Linked DNA regions of Homo sapiens: region 2 is linked to region 1. The links are contacts of gene promoters, found by promoter capture Hi-C in blood cells and fetal thymus (Javierre and others, 2016). All regions are on one chromosome and are shown on one strand. Each heading gives the region's core, a stretch centred on a gene start or on the middle of the fragment in contact. The rest is flanking DNA. Distances are from core to core; before and after follow the strand shown. Region 1 holds the start of PLEKHA5 (pleckstrin homology domain containing A5). Region 2 has its middle 130 kb from the start of CAPZA3.

Region 1 (5,987 bases), core at 2,283-4,782:
AAAAAATACTTTAGCCAGGCGCGGTGGCTCACGCCTGTAATCCTAGCACTTTGAGAGGCCAAGGCAGGTGGATCACCTGAGGTCAGGAGTTCCAGATCAGTCTGGCCAACATGGTGAAACCCTGTCTCTAATAAAAATACAAAAATTAGCTGGGCATGGTGATGCGCACCTGTAGTCCCAGCTACTAGGCAGGCTGAGACAGGAAAATTGCTTGAGCCTGGGAGATGGAGGTTGCAGTGAGCTGAAATTGTGCCACTGCACTCCAGCCTGGGCAACCAAGTGAGACTCCATCTCAAAAACAACAACAACAACAAAAAAAAAACTTTAATGGTTAAAAAATGCTAATGGATCATCTGAGTCTCCAGCAAGTCTTAATCTTTTCGCTGGTGGATCTTGCCTCAATGTTGTTGAAGGCTGCTGACCAGTCAGGCTAGTGTTGATGCAGGTAAGAGCAGTTGTTGCAGTTTCTTAAAGACAATAGAGAAGTTTGCTGCATCGATTGACCCTTCCTTCCATGAAGGATTTCTCTGTAGCATGTGATACTGTTTGACAGCATTTTACACACAGTATAATTTCTTTCAAAATTGGAATCTATCCTTTCAAACCCTGCCACTACTTTATCAACTAAGTTTATATTATATTCTAAACTATTTGTTGTCATTTCAACAATATTTACAGTATCTTCACCAGGAATAGATTCCCTCTCAAGAAATCACTTTCTTTGCTCATCCATAAGAAGCAACTCCTCATCCCTTCAAATTTTACCATGAGATTGTGGCATTTCAGCCCCATCTTCAGGCTCTATCTCTAATTCTAGTTCTCTTGCTATTTCCATATTTCTAGTTACTGCCTCCACTGAAGTCTTGAACCCCTCAAACTCATCCATGAGGGTTGGAATCAACTTCTTCCAAACTCTTGATAATGTTGATCTTTTGGCTTCCTTCCTTAAGTCACAAATGTCCTTGATGGCATCTAGAATTATGAATTTTTTCAATTTACTTTTTCCAGATCCATCCAAGGACCCCCTATCTCTGGCAGCTATAGCCTTATGAAATGTACTTTCTACATAATAAGACTTGAAAGTCACAATGACTCCTTGATCCATGAACTGTGGAATGCATGTTGGGTTAGCCAACATGAAAACAACACTAATCTCTTGTATGTCTCCAGGAGAACTCTTGGGTAAACAGGTACACTGTCAATGAACAGAAATATTTTGAAAGGAATCACTTTTTCTTTTCTTTTTTTTTTTTTTTTTTTGAGCAGTAGGTCTCAACAGCAGACTTAAAATGTTCAGTCAGCCATGACAGATGTGCTGTCATCTAGGCTTTGTTGTTCCATTTATAGAGCACAGGAAGAGTATATTTAGCATAATTTTTAAGGGTCTTAGAATTTTTGGAATGGTCAATGAGAATTGGCTTCAACCTAAAATCACCAGCTGCATTATCTCCTAACAAAAAAGTCAGCCTGCCCTTTGAAGCTTTGAAGCCAGGCATTGACTTTTCCTCTCTAGCAGTGAAAGTCCTAGATGGCATCTTCTTTCAATAGTAGGCTGTTTTGTCTACATTGAAAATATGTTTAGTGTATCCACCTTCAATGATCTTGACTAGATTTTCTGGATAACTTGCTGCAGCTTCTACATCATTTGCTGCTTCATCTTGCACTATTATGTTACGGAGATGGTGTTTTTCCTTAAATCCCTGATAGCTTCAACCTTTTCTTCTGCAGCTTCCTCAGCTCTCTCAACCTTCATAAGATTGAAGAGAGTTAGAGCCTTGCTCTGGATTAGGCTTTGGCTAAAGGGAATGTTGTAGCTAGGTTGATCTTCTCCCCAGACCACTAAAATTTTCTCCCTATCTGCAATGAGGCTGTTTTGTTTTCTTATAATTCATGTTTTCACCAGAGTAGCATTTTCAATTTCCTTCAAGAACATTTCCTTTGCATTCCCAACTTGTCTAATTATTTGACACAAGGCCGAGCTTTTGGCCTCTCTTGGCTGTTGATACATCTGAGCTTAATCGTTTCTAGCTTTTCATTTAAAGTAAGGGACATGCAACTCTTCCTTTCACTTGGTCACTTAAAGGGCATTGTAGGGTTACTGGTTGGCCTAATTTCAATATTAGGCCATTATTATTAGACAATTATTAGTGTTTCATTTCAGGGAATATGGAGGCCCAAGATGAAGCAGAGAGACAGAGGAACAGCTGGTTGGTGGAGCAGTCAGAACACACACATTTATTAAGTCCCTGTCTTACATGGGCTCAGTTCATGGTGCCCTCAAAACAATTTCAACAGTAACATCAAAGATCACTGATTACAGATCACTATAACAGGTACAATAATGAAAAAGTTTGAAAGATTGCAAGAATTACCAAAATGTGCCACAGAGACATGTAGTGAGCAAATGCTGTTGAAAAACGGTGCTAGGACTTGCTTAATGCAGAGTTGCCACAAACCTTCAATTTGTAAGATGTGAAAGATCTGCAAACAGCAATAAAGTGAATCGCAGTAAAACAAAGTGGGCTTGTACAGCAAGGAGGTTATACAAATATACTTTTGAAATCCTACAGCCAGTTTGAATCCAGGCTTTGGCAGTTATTACTATGACTGGGCAAACTACTGTGTTTTTAAACTTCATTTTTCCTATCTGTAAAATGGGGATTTTTTATAGATTGTGTGTGTGTGTGTATATATACACACACACACACACATATATATATATACACACATATATATATAGTTGTTGTGAAGATTTAAAAATGTACACCGTCACAAGGACTCCATAAAATAAGCTATTATTGTAATCTATTGGAGACAGGGCAAGTAAAAATCCACACTGATGTTAAGTGAATCTTTAAAAACAAGTACCAGAAAAAGACGAGTTTTTATTTTATAAGATATGACCTAAGGGGCCTAGGAAGAGAAAAAACTTGTTTTGTCAAGTCTAAATCCACTCATATTTCATGGGGCCACGTATCACGTCCAACCTTTGATATCTGGCACACAACAAACAAACAGGAAAGGCCTTTCGTGTGCTTTAATAAAAACAGCTTTCCATTTTAAAACGATAAATATATTGGAAAAATCTGTTGGCTCTCCAACAGCTCTTATAAAACAAAGCTCAGACGCTGTGTTTTTGTTGTTTGAAAGAGAGAAATCAGGGGCTTGGGCATTATTAGGCTCCCTTTGATCGCGCCCTGGGATGGGAAGCCTTCGGGCAAAGCCCTGGGGGCAGGACGCGTTTTTTTTTTTTTTTTTTTTTTTTTTTAATCGATCCCGGAACCTTCGCGCGGCGGAGGGGGCGGGCGCGCCGCAGGGGCCCGAGGGAGGGGTCTGGGGCGCGGCGCCGCTTGCCCATCCCCCGAGCGCGCGGCGGGGCGGCCGGCCGGCGGCCGCCGGGATGCGGAGGGGCGGCGACGGGGGCCGGACCCTGCCGGGGCGGCGGGGCGGGCACCGCCCGAGGGGGTAGGGCGCGCGCGGGGGCGCGCCGGGCCGGGGAGGCGCGCTCGCTCCGCGCTCCCTTCGCTCGCTCGTTCCCTCCTCCCTCGGCAGCCGCGGCGGCAGCAGGAGAAGGCGGCGGCGGCGGCTAGGGATCAGACATGGCGGCGGATCTGAACCTGGAGTGGATCTCCCTGCCCCGGTCCTGGACTTACGGGATCACCAGGGGCGGCCGAGTCTTCTTCATCAAGTAAAGAGCCGGGGACGGCACGGGGGCCCGCGGGGGCGGGAGGGCAGGAGGCGGGCGGCTGGCGACACGGGGGAGAGCCCGGGTCTGTGCTCCTGCAGCCCCTCGGCTCGCCCCCGCGTCCCCTCTCACGCTCCGTGTCTGCCCCTTCTCTCACCCCTGCAGCGAGGAGGCCAAGAGCACCACCTGGCTGCACCCCGTCACCGGCGAGGCGGTGGTCACCGGACACCGGCGGCAGAGCACAGGTAACGCCGGGCCCAAACGGAGTTGGGCTCCGCCTGGAGGAGGCGGCAGAGCCCGGGCCGCCCGGCTCCCCGCAACCTGCCCCGCGCCGCGGGCCCCGGGAGGCGGCGAGGCGGGGCGGAGGCCGGGCGGGAGCGGCCGCAGGTAGAGGGGCCACGGGGACTCCGCCGCCGGGAGTTCTCTCCAGTCTCGGGGCGCCTCTTTCTCCTCAGCCTTTCATCAGCACTTGGAGACGGCGCCCTCTTCCTGCGCCTTCTCCCCCCATCCCAGCCTAGACGACCCTCGCGACCCTAGAGTGGCGACGCTCCCCTCCCTGAAACCTGGAGTCCTGAGTTTTTCCTCCGCGGCCGCTACTCACTCCCCGGTGACCCCCAGCTGCCGTCTTGCCCCCCAGCAATCTTCAGGCAGTCCTTACCCACTCCCCTCCCTGCAGCCCCGGACCCCGATCGCCCGCCGGGATAACGTAACCACATCCTCCCCCTCCTCCCAGGAGCGCTGCCTCCTGCCGTGCAGCTTCCTCCTCCTAGGTGGGACTTGTGGGTAGGTGGCTGATGAAGGAGGAGGAGGAGGAGGAGAGGAGTTCGGGGGTGCTGCGATCCTCTCTGTGACAGGGAACGGCTCGGGAAACGCTTGGCGCGTTCCCTCCTGCCACGGGAGGAGCAGCCGGAGCCGGAGGAGGCGTTCGCAGCCTCAGTTGCTGGCGATCCGGATCTAAAGTCCCCGCCAGCCGCACGGAGGTTGCACAGACTGCCAGGAGGCGGTGGGCGTGCGAGGGGGTGTCCCGTATGGGGGCACCCGGGCCCTGTTTGGAGGGAGTCCGTGGGGAAGCGGCTCTCTCGGGTGGCTTTGGGAGCTTGTTTGAATGCTAAGTGTGAGTGGAGCTGGAAAAGGCTCCTCGTAGTTTCTGTACTGGTCTGGGTTTCTTTTATCATTCTTTGTTTACATTCGTGACTTGTTTGTCTTTGAAATGTAACATGTGTTCTCTTACTGGCCTGCCTCTAGTCCTGGTGATTGGAAAGGCTTGAGAGCAGTTTGGGTCGAAGGCGAGGCCAGTTTCAGCAGTCCTCAGAGCTGGCCTCTGGGGTACATTCTCTCGGACTCTGACATTCCGTGAATCTGTTAAAGTTGCCAGGATATTGAACAAACCTGCCTCTCTGTGAAATGCTGGAGTTCACTGAAGTGACTAATGTCTCCAAATTTGCAAAAAGGTGGAGGAAGAAAGGAAAGGCTGGTGTAGCAAGCATGATGAGCTTACATTTTTAAGGCATTTCTGACTAATACACTATCATGTTTCTCAATTCCCCGGTGCAGGCTTTTGCTTCAATATACCTTTCTGGTGTTTTACACGCATATTCCAACTTTGATGGCCTCTTTGCTTTTATGGATAATGATAGATTTATTTCATGAAAGACGATATGACATTTAAATTATTTAGACTAATTATCCTATGGAATTATGAGTGATATAAATAAGTGTCCTAGTTAACCCCACAGATTTGGTAACATTCACGCCACAGAAAAATTTTATTCTTTTATGTGATTTCACTTTTTTTTTTTTCTGGTTTGGTTTTACTTTGCTTGGACTCTGGTTTTGTACACACATCGGTTGTTTTTACTTCCAAGAGGCATTTTGATGAAATCCAAACAACTTGTCATTAATAATAATATGTAGCACATAATGACCATTGTTCACCTGAATCATCCCCAACTTTACTACTTGAAACTTCACGTCTCTTAGTCAAATTTTTAGAAACACACACGGAAGTATTCGGTGTCATTTCTTTTCCATTAATTAAGTAGTTAGGAAGTTCTGCCTTCTTTTTGGTGACACTTCCTAGATGGATTCATTTGTGTAGCTGAAAAATACGGTCTTAAATAGACACAATATACCCAAGAAGAGGCAGGCGTTGCCTGTTATACCCAGCTTTTTTTTTTGCTAGTCATTCATGAGTGTTCCACCTGGGATGAGAAGGCTTCCCTTTGCTTTCTTGGGTGCCAGAACATAGTTCCTCTCCACCCTAATATATTACAGTGTGTGCTCAGGTCAGATAATCTCTAAT
Region 2 (6,077 bases), core at 2,690-5,189, 260 kb before region 1:
TCCATTTTCTTCCCACTACAAAATCATTTAATATCTCGTAACATTTAGTATTTAGTTCCTTAATCCATTTGGAAGAGTCTGACTTATTTTCTCTTGAAATTGTATGGTAAATATGCCACCACTGTGTACAAATGATGACAGTTTTGTGTCTTGCTGCCCAATCCTTATGCTCTTCACTTCATTCCTTTGTGTGTTTAGGTGTGTTACCGTGCTGATTAAAAATTACAGTATAATGTTGAAGAAATTATAACTAGCAATTAAAATGTGAATTTTTGTGAATTTAATCAGTGTAACATATCTCATTTTTATATTAGTTTGCATTTCCTCAATTACTAGTGAAATTGAGCTTTTTTTTCTAGATGTTCTTGGCCACACAACTTTCCCTTTTGTGAATTGTCAATTCACACCCTTTGCTTTTTTTCTATTGCATTGTTTGCCTTTTTCTGCTGGTTTGTGAGAATGCTTATATATTCAGATACTAATCCTTTGTTAGTTAAATACATTGAAATACCTTCTTACATTGTGTCTTTGTCTTAGGAAAGTTTTACGTTTTAACATAGTCAAAATTTCTTCCTTTATGTTTTGAGTTTTTGTCTTTTTTAAAGAGATACTCACTATGAAAAAATTACATATAACATTTTTCCATATTTCTTCTAAATGGTTTCCATTTTTATGTTCACATTTAGTTCCTTAATGCATTTGGAATTGACCTATGAGCTCTGTATGGTTGGGATCCTCTGGGGGAAGGGAGAGTGGGTAAAAGCAAGAGTTAGAAGCATTTCTTAAGAGAAGCATTTCTTTAGAAGCATTCACTCCACACCAACATACTGACCGTGAAAAACGTTTTTATGAAGAATGTTAATTACCTCTCTCAGAACACCTAATTTTCTGCAGAGCATAGTTTAGGAAATTCTGAAACCAGTGAATTCTATCTAAATTTTGAAAGACAGGAGGGAAACCAACAATTCAGTGACCCCTAAGTGAAAAACATTATGTTAGTTTAGGTATGTTCCCGTAACTCATTTCATCCTCAAAAAAAAAAAAAAAAAAAAAAACTAAACTAATATTATTAATCCCATTGTACAGGTTCCTAAGATCATATGGCTAATGAACTGTGAAAATCAAATTTGAGGCCAGATTTCTCTGCCTTCAAAATCCATTTCCTTCCATTTTCTTCCCACTACAAAATCATTTAGTATATTGTAAGGCTGAAGCACAAATTAATACATTAGGATTTTAAGACAAAGTGAGAACCAGAAAAGAGAGAAGGAGGCTCTGGTAGAAGGTAATGGCTACTTGCTTTTAAATACATAAGCAAACTACATCTCTTTAAGTGTCACCTAGACTGTATGATTATTTTGAAGTTAAAAACATGTGCTAGGATTCAAGTTATATAGACCTGAGTTTAAACCTGCTTATACCAAGCAAGCTATTTTCCTAACCTCAGTAAAAGGGGGATAATAACAGCTACTACACAAGACTGCTGGGTGGATTACATGAGTTACATGGAAAAGGCATCCAGCACTCTGTTTGATACGTAATAGACCCTGAAATGTTAGTTCCTTTAAACCTCAATTGTATACATATGTATCCAGAAACCTTCACAGGGTCTCTACAGCCTGAAGAATACTGGAAGCCATCGTCTGCTCTTGCTTTCCTTTTGTTTTCTTCTCTGTTTCTTCTCTGCCTCTGCCTCAGGCAACACTTTGTTGGTAATACTGGACCCACTGTATAACCAGGTATCCTGTTATTAATTATGACTAGGTTCAGCCCAGTGGAGCTAAATTACTTTCATAAGGCCAAATCAGCACCAGAATGAGTCACCAACACACTGAGACAGTTTTCCTCCTCCCCCAGGGTTTGCTCCACAGTGGACACAGCTGCCTTCGGGTTCTTAGAGGTTAGAGGGTTACTGAAGAGTGACTGAGAGTGACCTCGGATATCTTGTTGCTTGCCCTCCTGCAGCATCCCATAAATGAACAAGTTGGCATCCATCGGGAATTAGCTGGGTCATACCAGGACAAGGAAAAATGTTATATTGATTCTGTCTCTGGTTCTACTCAAACCTGCTTCTTTCCTGTAAATTTCTCTCTCATTCTTTCTTTCTCTCAGTTCTCTTTTTTAAATGTTTCTCCCCTCCATCTGGTATTTTCCTTCTCTTCGTTCTCCCCTGTGACATCTGCCATCTCCACCCTATTCCCATTCTCCTCCTCATCTCCTCCTTCTTTCTTGTTCTGTTCAAAAATAATAATAATAACAACAACCATAATAAGTAGTTGCCTGCTGATTGTACTGCAGGAACATAGACTGCTTCCATTCGTGATCACAGGTGGCTTCCCAAGTCCCGCCAGCCTGGCGGCTGAATTTTTGGGTCATAGTGAGGCAGGTAGGTAGGAGGGTGTGAGTGATAAAATGTCCAGTACAGTCAAATGCATTGTAGCTCCTTACATTTATGTTGCTAATGCACTCCAAGCCAATCACAATAAAGTTTCCAATGGAAAATCATCAAATTCAGTCTATAGAGATTAAGACTGTGACATCATCTCCTGATTTTATATCTACCCAGCTTTTGTTCTATGAATAAACAGGCTTCTGCTTTTCATATCTGTGAAAAACAGATACGCTAAAAATTATACAGGGATGCCCAGGGAAGCCTGCATCTACCCAGACAAATTGTCTAGTGGAGATACCCAAAGTAGTTAATGCAGGAGTGGAAGTTCTTACTTTTTCATACATAGCAATTTAAGAACTGACTCACATATAATTATCTCAAACTCTACTTAATTCTTCCTATGATTTTTACGTTACTCTTCTAAATTGTATTTACTCAATATTTTTATTGAAATCCTATTTTTCTTAACATATTTGTATATGCGTTTTTGTTGTAAGTCATTTCAAATCTTTTATGGAACAGCATGAGTTTTAAAAAAGAAAAACAAATAAATGAAGCAATAACTTCTGCCTTTATCCAATCATCTATACCATATGTCTTGATGTGTAATCTGACTTTTAGCTCAGATTTTTTTCATGTTAGCACTTCATTTGACCTCATAAGAGTATCTCATTTAAGAATATTAATAGAAGATGTACAAGCTTCATTTTACCAGGGTTATACAAGCAGTCTTAATTTAAATTCTATATGTGAAGAATAGATTTAGAAAAACATCAACACAAAGTGGATATCTATAAGACACTATTCTAAGCTAAGTATTCTGGCTTTAAAATTCTTGTTTTGACATAAACTATCCAGGTGTAGTATTTCAAACCAAGATTAAAGGCATGAATAAAGCAAGCATTAATTGTCAGCCTAGCCTCTATTAGTTATGACCAGTCCTCAAGGACTCTGTTATTAATAATGAAATTCTTAACAAGGAAAAAAGTTTCCTCACAACCTGGTTTCTCCTGGTTTCTATTGTTCATGGAAACTCTGATCTAGAAAATTCATCAGTATTTGTGAACTAAAGCAGAGAATTGTTTACTTATATCTCTCTCTTCTATGTTCATAAGGGTTAGAGAATCCTTTTCACCATAGTGCCCCCCAGCATCTAGCAATGTCTCCGTCACGAAGAAGGCCATGGACTCTGCACTCAGGGTATCTGATTATAATCCTAGCACCGCCATTTGTCATCTGTACACTGGAGAGCAACCTGCTTAAACTCTCTGTGCATTAGCTTTTTCATCATACAGAAAATGTAACCATTCTTAGAAATTAAAACAATGCATGGCTTATAGAAAATATTCAAATATTCAAAAATATTCAAAATGTAAACATATGGGTGGAAAAATTAAACATTTATGTAACTACATAATGACATTTCTTAATTGCATTTGTGAATCTCTGAAATTCTCAGATATAGATGCTTGGGGAAAGGTCCTTATTAGCGACTACTAGTTACTCCAGCTGACATGATCAACTGGTTGATGACACCCTTCCCAGGCATGAGAGTGCTGCCAGAAACTAATCAGTGGCAAGAGTTGTGTCTCTTAAATTCAAGCCTACTCCAGCCATGGCAAGAGTCCCAAAAATAACAGCTTCTAATTGCATTTCATAATCAACTGGGTTCTTTATATGGACAATACACACACAGAGAGACAGAGACACAGAGAGAGAGAACAGCAACATAACCAAAAGGATAGGTTTACCATCAGTCCTATATTGGGATTCCCCATTCTTCTATTCATTAATTAAGTGTCCTTGGGAAAGTTAAACTCATTAAGCCTCAACTTTCCCTTGTAAAATGGGAATAATATCTACTTTGAGGACTGGTAATTATAAAAATAAATGAAACAATGTATGTAAATAACCTATAGTTTGTTTGTTTGTTTGTTTGTTTTTTGAGACCGTCTTGCTCTGTCACCCAGGCTGGAGTGCAATGGCGCCCTAGTGTTTCATACATATGAAGTATTTACTAAGTAGGAGCTACTGTTATTATTATTATCATTGACATCGTCATTACCCCAAATTCTGAGAAAGTTTTCATTAAGAGGGAGACATAACATTGGTTACAAAATAATCTTATTTTACTTATGAAGAAAAAAAGTTTAGCAATCTTAATCCTTAATGGAATTTCTGATGTTACAATTGCCACCTAGCATTCCCTAAAATTTAAAAAGTTGATAAGTTCACATTCGTTTGTATTGTGGATAAAAGTTCAAAGTACTAATTAGATAAGAGGGTGCCCTGATTCTTCCAGATGACTGGGTCAGAGTGACTGGTTGTTTGGGTGGTGTTATTATTAATAATGGCAATAATTATTTAGCCCTTTAATGTCCCGTAATTGCAAGTGAAGCTTCCACTAAAATGCCACATCAAAAACATTTTTTTTTTTTTGCTTATGCATTCAGTTTCTTTGTTCACCCCAAGCACAGTCTATAGGTATCAGTATACATAATGATCCTTCTCTTCATGCACCTTTTGCTTTGAACAATTCCTTCCAGTACATTTGGTTGGAAGGTAATAGGCCTGTATAATATTTCTAAGGAAGGGGAGGGAAGGGATTTACAGGGAGGAGTTGAAGGATGTCAGTACAGCCAACCCAAAGGAAAGTGGGGTAAAGGAGATTTTATTTGCAGCCTAAGATCTTATAAAAGATTTCTTTGTCTGAGTGTGTTGAAGAAGGGCACCTTGGCCCTTTAAGGGAATCTAACAGGCAATGTGAGGACAAGTCAAAAAAAAAAAGCACAAGTGAATCTCATCCAGAAGTAAATATCTGAATATAAAAGAGGCCAAGCTAGGCTGTACAGAAGTATATAAAGGATATGTACTGTAATCAAGTCTTCCTGGATATTTTCCAGGCTCAATTCTGTGTTATTGTGGTAGTAATTTCATTAGTCATTTCTGTAACTACGACTTTGATACTCACTCAGTGTACAACTATTTTTTTAAGCCAACCTACACTAGTTCCTTATTTCAGTTTGCAAATTTTTTTTAGTAAGTTTTCGACTTCTGGTTTGAAGATTTAGTCTCTGAGTAAAATTCTTAAAGACTGTTCAGATGCTTTGACAGCCAAAAATGCTTTACTTTTATCTGTCATCAAAGCAGCAAGATATACTAGCATCCTGTTTTCAATGTGTATTAACTTCATTCAATAAGTCTTTCACTTAATGTGTTCTTCCTGGATGTCTACGAGTGTCTATGACTGTCACTATGCATGAAACCAAGCCTAATATGACCTTTGCCCTACTATCCCAAGGCTGAAGCTTTTCCTGCGAGTCTTGATATTTTCAGAAATGCATAATGTCTTCTTGCCAACTACTTTGAACATTGTTCACCTGGCGCGAGTTGGAGACACTTTCAATCATTCTTCATCACTCTGACCCAGACTGTCAGAGTGAATAAAGCACAAGGGAAGAAATGACAGAGACAGTTTTAGAAGCCGGGGCTCCAAAATGAGGATGAGAGAACTGAAGTACTGCCGTAGATAATTCAGTCACTGACTCCCTTTCCTGTTAAATACCCATGGGATTTGGAAGTCCTACAGAGTCTTGAAAACTCTCGTTTTTAAAGTGGTCCAATAAAGTCATTCACACTTGATGAACTGCAGGGAACAGTCAGTTGCTGCTGAAGAAGTGGAATT

The links. The method cuts DNA at HindIII sites, captures the fragments that hold promoters and counts their contacts. A CHiCAGO score of 5 or more calls a contact.
Region 2: a contact is called between a fragment that was not itself captured here and the fragment with the promoter of PLEKHA5 in region 1, in 3 of 17 cell types (M2 macrophages, M0 macrophages and megakaryocytes). The highest score is 7.5, in M2 macrophages.

The regions. Positions count from the first base shown.
Region 1 is chr12:19,126,201-19,132,187 of GRCh38, forward strand. It overlaps PLEKHA5 (pleckstrin homology domain containing A5), which reads left to right and starts at 3,533. Exons shown (of 32, transcript NM_001256470.2): 1 at 3,533-3,688; 2 at 3,851-3,930. The coding sequence starts at 3,600. The HindIII fragment of the contact is 7,873 bases long and covers 1,479-5,987 here.
Region 2 is chr12:18,863,537-18,869,613 of GRCh38, forward strand. No RefSeq gene overlaps it. Among named protein-coding and RNA genes, the nearest start is that of CAPZA3, 130 kb to the left of the region's middle. The HindIII fragment of the contact is 1,697 bases long and covers 3,092-4,788 here.